Linked DNA regions of Homo sapiens: all the other regions are linked to region 2. Evidence: promoter capture Hi-C in human tissues and cell types (Jung and others, 2019). All regions are on one chromosome and are shown on one strand. The core of a region is centred on a gene start or on the middle of the fragment in contact, and the rest is flanking DNA. Distances in the headings are between cores, read along the strand shown. Region 1 overlaps CRMP1 (collapsin response mediator protein 1). Region 2 holds the start of TMEM128 (transmembrane protein 128). Region 3 overlaps EVC (EvC ciliary complex subunit 1).

Region 1 (3,060 bases), core at 54-2,553, 1.6 Mb before region 2:
AAACAAAAAAGAAGAAAGAAAGAGAAAGATAGAAAGACAGGAAGGGAGGGAGGGAGGGAGGAAGGAAGGAAGGAAGGAAGGAAGGAAAGCAGGCAGGCTGCGGAACAGGGCACAGGTGTCAGAGGAATTCAGAGAAGAGATGACTCAGCCCTGGCAGAAGCAACAAGAGATGGCTTCTTGGGGTTTGGAGGATGACATCAGCCAGGTGTTGAGGGACTTGATTGGTTGAGGGAAGGGAAGGGCATGCAAGGTGGGTGGAATATTTCACACAGGTGAATCAGAGGACGCAGAAGTGGAAATACATGTGAATGGGTGGGGCTATGGGGGGATTCTATAAAGCTTTGGAAATCAGGGAGAATGCACCCAAGGGGATGGAAATAACACGTGGGTTCTAAGTGTGTCTTAGATATGAATGGGTTATTTGATGTTGAGCAAGTCACTTTCTCTCCCTGGGCCTCGGATTCCTTTTCTGGACAGGGAGAGTTGGATTAGATAATTCAGTTCCAAGTTCTAGGCCACTCTGATCTTCTTCTTTGGTTAATAGGAAGGCACTGGAAGTTCTTGAGGTAAGATGCTGTTATTATGAAAGCAGCTTGTAGGAATGTGGATTCTGAACTCAGACTATCTGGCTTTGAATCCTGGCTGTTTTACTTACTAGCTATGTAATTGGACAAGTCACTTATTCTTTCTATGCATCAATTTTATCTGTACAGATTTATGTTTGGAAATCAGAATGATATTTCCTAAGATTTTTTCCCCATAGAATTAAATGACTTAATATGTGTAAGATGCTTAAAATAGTGCCTGCACATATTAAATGCAATGTGGATTAGCTCTTATTATTATTACCGTGGGATGGTGTATTAGCTTTGCTCCATAGCATACAACCCCAAGGTGTCAACAATATACACTTATTTTTTGCTCATGCTACATGAGGGCTGTGGGTTGGCTGTAACTTTGCCCCTGTTTACTGGTGGGTAGTGAGTCTGCTCTGTGCATCTCCTCACTTTGAGACCCAGGCTGAAGGAGAAGAAAAGCACAAGAGATTGGCAGCAACCTGAAATATCTTTAAGAACTTCTACTCAAATGTAGCATATTTCACATCTGCTGATAGTGTACTGGCCAAAGCAAGTTGTATGATCAAGCTCTAAATCGGTGGGAGAGAAGCACAAAGTCAGTCTTTCTAGAGGAGATGTGAGGATTGAATGTGAAAGTTCTGACATGTAAAAGATGCTAATACACACCCGTGGAAGCTGATAATGAGGTGGTCAGGAAGCACAGCGATTGGGTTTGGAAGAAAAATCCCACCATTGGTTCTTAGGTTGTATTGGATTTGGTAGCAAGCTCGAAATTGAGGTGTCTCAATGGACAATAAGGAATAGATTGGAATGAGGGTGAGAGGCAAAGGACAGAGATAGATATTAGGGGCCCATGTACAAAAGGTATTGGTAGAAGACAGAAAAATGCAAGCTATTTCAACAACCAGTGGTTCTCAGCCTGTGTGCTGTGAGCACAGTGGTGTACTCAAAAAAATTCTCTGCCGATGTGTGGCTAAATTTTGATCAGCGTTTAAAATTTATGTTTGCTACAACCAAGTCTACAAATTATTGTAGCATCTCTCAGGTGGAGCCCTGAGTATTCACAAGCAGAGAGATGTTGAATAGAGTCTAATTTGCTGTAAGTAAAAGTCAGCTCTTGCCATGGAAGAGGAACACCGGAGGACTTTGCCGTGAGAGCATATAAAAGAACATGGTCGGGGCAGTGGACAGCACCACGGTGCTGAATGGTAACCAAGTGCAATCAGAGCTATGATAGACCTGTAAGACAGCTACAGTCACACTGCAGTGGGAGGGCATGGTGATGGTTGCAGACTTACCTGGTGTAATTTTAGGTCTTTAATCCTTCAAGAATGCTGCAAAATTTTATATGATTTGAAAGTATGTCCTGAGTACAGTAAGGTTGAGAACCATTGCCCTAGAGAGCTGTAATGACCAAATCATAGCTTTGCTCTGAGAAGAAACAACTCTGAATTGGTGTTGGTAGTTTGGGAAGTGGAGTGGGATCTTGGATGCTTCATAGAGAAGTTGTCTAGAAAACAAGAGCAAGCAGCTAAAAGGAAGAAAGCAATGTTTGTGGATATATGAGGTTGTAGTTCCCCACTCCTTCCTTGGGCCTGTGTCCCAGGCATCCAGAGCATTCGCCTTGACCTGGCACACCATGTGTGGCCCTCTGCCTTTGTATCAGCTGTGTCCATTCTCTATAAAGGATTCCTCCTCCTGGGCTGGGGGTGGTGAGCACTTCAATTTCAGTAACTTTGGCTTGTTGCTCATGTCCATCTGCTCCGCTTGACCATGGATACTTGGAAGACTGGGAAATTGTCTGATTCTCCTCAGGAGCCCTTCAGGAACACTGGGGATTCACAGTGGGGATGCCACACTGTGTGAGTGAGTGAATGGGAGCAAGATTGTGGACTTCCTTGCTGAGTGAGGTTTCAGCCACAGCTGCATTTAGTCTTCCTTAACAAGGCACTGTCTGTGGATTTAACATGAAGGTAGTTACTATGCAGAATGAGATGAAGGTGGCATGAGGAGTTTTGGAGCTCAAAGCGAAAAGAAGGTGTGGGGGCCCCTGAAGTGGTGCTTTGACAATGGGGAGAGGGCAGATCTGGTTTAGTAATGGGCTTCGCTGCATTTCACATGGAATGGGAAGCTTTTGCAAAAGGTACTTTTTACACACAAGTGGGATCGTCACATTGCACATCTTGTGCTCTGCCCAGGGCCTTGAGTAAATAATGACCTGGTGTTGGAACTTGGAGTCAATTCCATGGGAAGACTCATTGGATCTGATGCAGAATTACATACAGCAAAAAGGTGGCTATTTGAGGAAATTTTGAACCTGCCCCCAAATTATGTTGCCATGTATTTTTAAATCATACCATATCCATAGACCCTTAGGGCTTAAGGTCTAATAAAATCTCAGCAAATGTTTGATTTCTATAACCTCAACGTTGAATCGAACTTTTAAATTATGTAAAATTTTATGTTGTACAATTAAGGAGGA
Region 2 (2,826 bases), core at 287-2,786:
AAGCTGGAGTGCAGTGGCAGGATCACTGCAGCCTCCTTCTCCCAGGTTCAAGTGATTGTCCTGCCTCAGCCTCCAGAGTAGCTGGGATTACAGGTGCCGGCCACCATTCCCGGCTAACTTTTGTATTTTTAGTAGAGACGGGGTTTCGCCATGTTGGCCAGGCTGGTCTCAAACGCCTGACCTTGTGATCCGCCCGCCTCGGCCTCGCAAAGTGTTGGGATTACAGGCGTGAGCCACCGCGCGCGGCTGGCACTCTTTTCTTGAGTATTTCTTATTACATTCCTTTTACAAACACCCCAACACATCGAAGATATTAAACAGTGCCTACTAATTCAAATTTTACTTCCTATGTAGCTGGCTCTCCACCCCTGTATTCAACTCACCTGAAACCACTCTCCCTGCTCTCCCACACTGCAGCAGAATAAACTGCCCTTTATATGTACAGTGTTTCTATTATGCCCCATGTACAGTGTTTTTATTATGGCACTGTATTGAAGCTGCTTCCTCTACTAGATTCTTCTGTCCTCACCATTTTATCACATGCAGCTGCTCAGAAAATGTTGGCTGCATTGATGAAATGCTTTCATACATTTACAAATAGAGTTTTCTTGTAATATACCTCTGTGGTTTTCTTTGGACAAGGAGCTCCTCACGTGCAAGGCCATGTCTTACTCATCTTTATCTCCACTGCTAGCATGGTGCCTAACAGCTCCTACCAAATAGTAGATGCTCAGTAAACGTTTGCGTGGCTAAGCCCACCATTTCTCAGCACATGACACGCTGGGAAACGGCTGGGAGAGTAATACGCGGGATTATTGACGAAGAAAAAGTTGTGAACTCGTAACACACAGTTTGTGGGCGTGAGCAGTGTGGAAAACCGCAGTTTGCTGGGAAAGCAATTTAGTTCCCTCGGTTCAGGCTGGGAGGATTTTTCACAAGTGGCGAGGAGGAGGCTCACATGAACCACATACAGGTACTTCTCACTGAAACGCACAACAAATCTAGAGCCAAGTGTAATAACGAAACGGGCCCCAAGAAGTTTATTTAATGCCCAGGGCCCCCAAGTGGTCACTGCCAGGCTCTAGCATCCTGTCCAGCAGGCCTTTCTCCTCCTTTCAAGTCTTGCTGGACGACTCCTGAAAAGCAAAAGTAGGAAAAAAACTGGGGGCTGAGAGTGGAAGGCTGGACAGAGGGTATGTCTCCTGCTCTGGCACCCGGAAGCCTGCGAGGGCTTCGGAAGCGCAGCGTCTCACGGTCGCGCATCCCGGCCCTGGACGCATCCAGCGGCAGCGGTAATCCTGGTCCTCCTGGGCTTCCGTAGGTCGGAATAAACTTGGGAACTCTTCCACCGGCAAAGCTCAGTGTTTTAAAATTCAAATCACACTTGCCGACATGAGAGCGGAACCTTTGAGGCCGACTCCACCCTAGCTGCTCGCTAACTAAACAGCGAAGAGAACACAGTCTCCAATCCAAACGCCAGGAGGTCCAGACCCGGAGCGGACGCCGGAAGCGCTGTGTCTGACGTCACTTCCGTCGCATTTCGGGGCGGTACCAAGATGGACTCCTCGCGGGCCCGGCAGCAGCTCCGGCGGCGATTCCTCCTCCTGCCGGACGCCGAGGCCCAGCTGGACCGCGAGGGTGACGCCGGGCCGGGTGAGGCGCGCACCAAGCCGCCCCGAGGTTCTCAGAGGCGAGGCGTCGGAAAACGGCCGGCCTCCGGCAGCCCTGGCCCAGTCTGGAAGGACTGAGTTTCGGCTTTGCAAGTCGAATATTTAATGTCAGGGAAGATCCTTAGAATCGCGGAGTGCTGTGCATCGTCATTTCAGCTGCGCTTCAGAATTCTCTGGAGAGCTGATTTGACACCTATTTGGAAATAGCGATTAAAATTAAAAATACCCACCAGTTTTAAGTCTTAAGGATTTACCAGAAACATGCGTGTACCGCAGTGTACAATGATGTGCGCAGTGTTTCACTTCAGGATTGCTTGTAATAGCGAATTACTGGAAATATCTGCCTTGCCCGTCAGCAGAAAGCTGTTTAAGTAAATTTGGGTATATGTATACCTGACACATCAGGTCGACTCGTATGTACCAATGGGGATGATTTTCAAAGGGAAGTGTGGAACACTATGGTATGCCGCCATTTGGGTACAAAACAGGTAACTTGTGATGTATGTTCACCTGTGAATGCATAGAATATGGAAGAATTCAGTAGAAATTGTAAGTGGTGGTTGCTTCTGGGGATTAGATCTGAGGTTAAGGATGGGAGACAGATACTTCATTTTGGATATTTTTTATCTCATATGTTTTAAAACCACGTCCATTTATTACCTTTTAAAATTAAAAACACGAATAACCTCATGCCCAGGCATGATGATGTATACATTTTGAGGATATCCCAGAATATTACGAACATGCTTCCCAGGGTTTCCGATGGTCATCTAAAGGCCCAAAACCTCAGATGTGGACCATTGATTCTCACGTGAACCTAGAGGGCATGTCAGAATCCCCGGAAAACTTAATAGAAATCATCCATCTGACCCAACCCCCATCCACCCATTCTTTCAGATTGCGTTCCAGACAGGAAAAATGTCTTGTCCATCACCTGTCTAGACAGTGCTGTGCTGGAACTAGAGCTCTGGTGTGCCGTTTCCACTTTTGAGCTGTGTTTAAAGTAACTAAAATATTTAGTTATAGGCTGGGCAGGGTAGCTCACGCCTGTAATCCCAGCACTTTGAGAGGCTGAGGCGGGCTGATCACGAGGTCAGGAGTTCGAGACCAACCTGGCCAAATAGAGCAGCCTGGCCAAGATGGTGAAACCCCGTCT
Region 3 (2,966 bases), core at 457-2,956, 1.5 Mb before region 2:
TTGCCACACAGATTTGACATGAGGATTAAGTAAGTCAAAATACGTGAAGCATTGAGAACAACGGCCAGGGAACAGTGAGCCTCCCTGAGTGTCAGCTGTTTTCACCATTATCTACAGCCAGTCCCATCTGTCTTGGCAGCTGTTTTTTTTCCTGTGAGTCTCAAGAAACTGAATCTGATGACCGTCAGGGTCCCTTTGAAGGGCTCTTCCAGTTTTAATATTTACAGATGCACATTTCAGCTCCAAATGCCCAGGCCAGAAAGATGGGATGCCGCCCTGGGAATTCCAACTCTTCTGTGTTCTGAGATACGGAAGCCATCTTTTTTCCCTTTGGTGCCCGGTATGCAGGCATAGTGAATCCATCCCTCTTCTATACAAACATAGACTGTGTAGCCCTGTCCATGCATCATTACAGTAATTTTTTGCTGTCTATTTCTCCTGCTGACATGTGGCCTGCAGGACTCTAATGACTAACAAGTACTGAATGCTTCCTACGTGCCGGGCTCTGCTCTAAAAACTTTACATACTGCCAAGTCTTTAACACCCTCAACTACCCTGTGAGAGAGCAGGTGCTATCATAGCCCCCATTTCACAGAAAATGAAACCAAATCACAGAGAGGTTAAATTATCTGCCCAAGATCACACAGCTAACGAGTGGCAAGACTGCAGTGGGAGCTCCAGTTTCTTCCCTGAGCCTGCATTCCTAACCTCTGCAATATGGTTTCCATGAACAGCATGTGCTACACAGTAGGTGCTCATTAAACATTGGCTGAAGGACAGTCATGCTGTTAAACTGGAGGATCCCTTTCCTTCTTCCTATTTGGAAGTTATTGGCTGATACTCTGGCCAGAGTCAGCTAAGGATGTATTTTCTTTTTTCTGCATCAATATCCTGCTGATAGCAAAAGAAAAAAATATAGGAAGAAAAGTCTTTCACCTTTGCAGAGCATTAATGAGTCAGCAGCCTTATCAAACTGAAATCCAATTCAAAGGGGCTTGGGCAGCAAACCAGGAAGCTTCAGGCCCAGGCTCAGCGATGTCATTAGAGAGGACGGGGATCTTAGGTGGATCACTGAGTGGGCTCCTTATCTGCGTGCTGTGAATAAAATATCTTCCATACCTATCTTTCGGCAGTGTTGACAGAAAAAAAAGGCCATGTGTGTATATACCGAGAAAAAGCACATGAAGTTCTCAAACAACTGTGTGGATGTGGGGGTCTTGTTAAAGTGCAGATCCTGCTTGGGAAGGGTGGAGGACAGGATTCTGCACTCTAACCAGCTCCCAGTGTTGCCGATGCTGTGGTCTGTGGATCACACCTGGAGGAGCAGAGCGGATTGGGAGAGGCATGTGGTGTGCAAGGGGAGGCAAAGATCCGTTGAGGCTTGGCTTTCCCACGGGTCTGAGGAGCTGAGTCTGTGCTGAGGGCAGGGTGGCCACTGCAGGGTTCTGAGCCGAGCTGCCACACGGGCTGGTGCACAGGACGGGGAAATGGGTGCAGGGCAGCATCAGAGGGCTCGTTCCCTGGCCCTAGTACACACTGGCGCACACAGGATGAGCCCAATGTGTACCAAGAGGAACCCAATGGTGACTGGGGTGTTAGGAGTCACTCAGCATCTAGCCAGGCCCTGTCTGTGGCAACTCTTAGCACTATTATTTTATAAATAGAGGAACAGACGCGCAGAGAGGTTAAGTAATGTGTTCAAGATCACACAGCTCCAAACAACAGAGCCCAGAGTCAAAGCTGGATTCGCAGATTTCTCTCCCACGGGTGTCCAACCCTTTGAATGTGAGGACTTTTTTGCTTATCTGTGGTTGGCAGGCTTCACAAAAATAAGGAGGGACCTTTTTTTTTTTTTTTTTTTCCGCTCATCAGCTATCGTTAGTGTTAATGTATTTTATGTGTGGCCTAAGACAATTCTTCTTCTTCCAATGTGGCCCAGGGAAGCCAAAAGGTTGGACACCCATGCACCAGGGGTTTGTATCCCTGGCCTCCCGTCAGAATAGTTCAGGGAGTTTTAAAACCCACAATGCCAGGGCCTCCACTCCAGACCAATCATATTAGAACCTCAGAGTGAAGGCCAGGAAAAGGCATTGTTAAAGAACTCTGCAGGCAAAACAGGGCAATCAGGAAAGTCAATCAATGCTCTGTCTACACCAGTGGGCGTCAACCCCAGCTCCCACCATCGTCATTGGGGAGCTCTAAAAACCCCAATGCCCAGCCAGGTTGCACCCCAATCTGATTAAGTCAGAAACTCTGGGATGGAGACCCATCTGGGGCCCAAGAATCAGTACTTTTTAAAGCTCCCAGATAATTTCAATGTGTAATTTCAGGTTTAGGACCAGTGTTCTATGCTCCAGTAATACTGAGCTGGCCAGAGCCTTCACTCATTGGATAGACGGATGGATGGATGGATGGATGGATGGGTGGATGGATGGATGGATGAGTAAATGGATGGATGGGTGGATTGATGGGTGGATGGGTGGGTGGGTGGATGGGTGGACGGGTGGATGGATGGGTGGGTGGATGGATGGATGGAGGGATGGATGGATGGATAAATGGGTGGGAGGGCAGATGGATGGATGGGTGGGTGGATGGATGGGTGGATGGATGGATGGATGGGTGGATGGATGGATGGATAAATGGGTGGGAGGGCAGATGGATGGATGGGTAGATGGATGGATGGATGGAAGGGTCAATGGGTGGATGGATGGGTGGATGGATGGATAAATAAATAAATGGATGAATGAATTTACTGTTGTTGTTGGTTTTTTTTTCCCTGAGGCTCTATATAACCAGCTACAACATGAATCTGTTAGATTTAAGGATGTCAAGCCTCAGGATTCCATATCTCTAGTCTGAATATCTTTATGTTCCCTCCCGCCCCCTCCAGCATTACCAGAGCCTGCAGCTCCTGAGAATCGCACAATAGCCCTTCGGCTGCAATCATTCTTTCCGTCAGAGTCATC

Evidence for each region. Contacts are between HindIII fragments. The study calls those that stand out against the background at their distance.
Region 1: a fragment that was not itself captured here is called in contact with the fragment with the promoter of TMEM128 in region 2 in 1 of the 25 tissues and cell types used here (dorsolateral prefrontal cortex).
Region 3: a fragment that was not itself captured here is called in contact with the fragment with the promoter of TMEM128 in region 2 in 1 of the 25 tissues and cell types used here (mesenchymal stem cells).

The regions. Positions count from the first base shown.
Region 1 is chr4:5,880,260-5,883,319 of GRCh38, reverse strand. The region is part of intron 1 of CRMP1 (collapsin response mediator protein 1); the gene reads left to right. Among named protein-coding and RNA genes, the nearest start is that of CRMP1, 11 kb to the left of the region's middle. The HindIII fragment of the contact is 3,703 bases long and covers 1-3,060 here.
Region 2 is chr4:4,246,933-4,249,758 of GRCh38, reverse strand. TMEM128 (transmembrane protein 128) reads left to right here and starts at 1,536. Exons shown (of 5, transcript NM_001297551.2): 1 at 1,536-1,653. The coding sequence starts at 1,557. RefSeq lists enhancers at 1,156-1,265, 1,568-2,194. The HindIII fragment of the contact is 14,953 bases long and covers 1-2,826 here.
Region 3 is chr4:5,748,237-5,751,202 of GRCh38, reverse strand. It overlaps EVC (EvC ciliary complex subunit 1), which reads right to left. Exons shown (of 21, transcript NM_153717.3): 8 at 2,897-2,966. Among named protein-coding and RNA genes, the nearest start is that of EVC, 39 kb to the right of the region's middle. The HindIII fragment of the contact is 5,077 bases long and covers 1-2,966 here.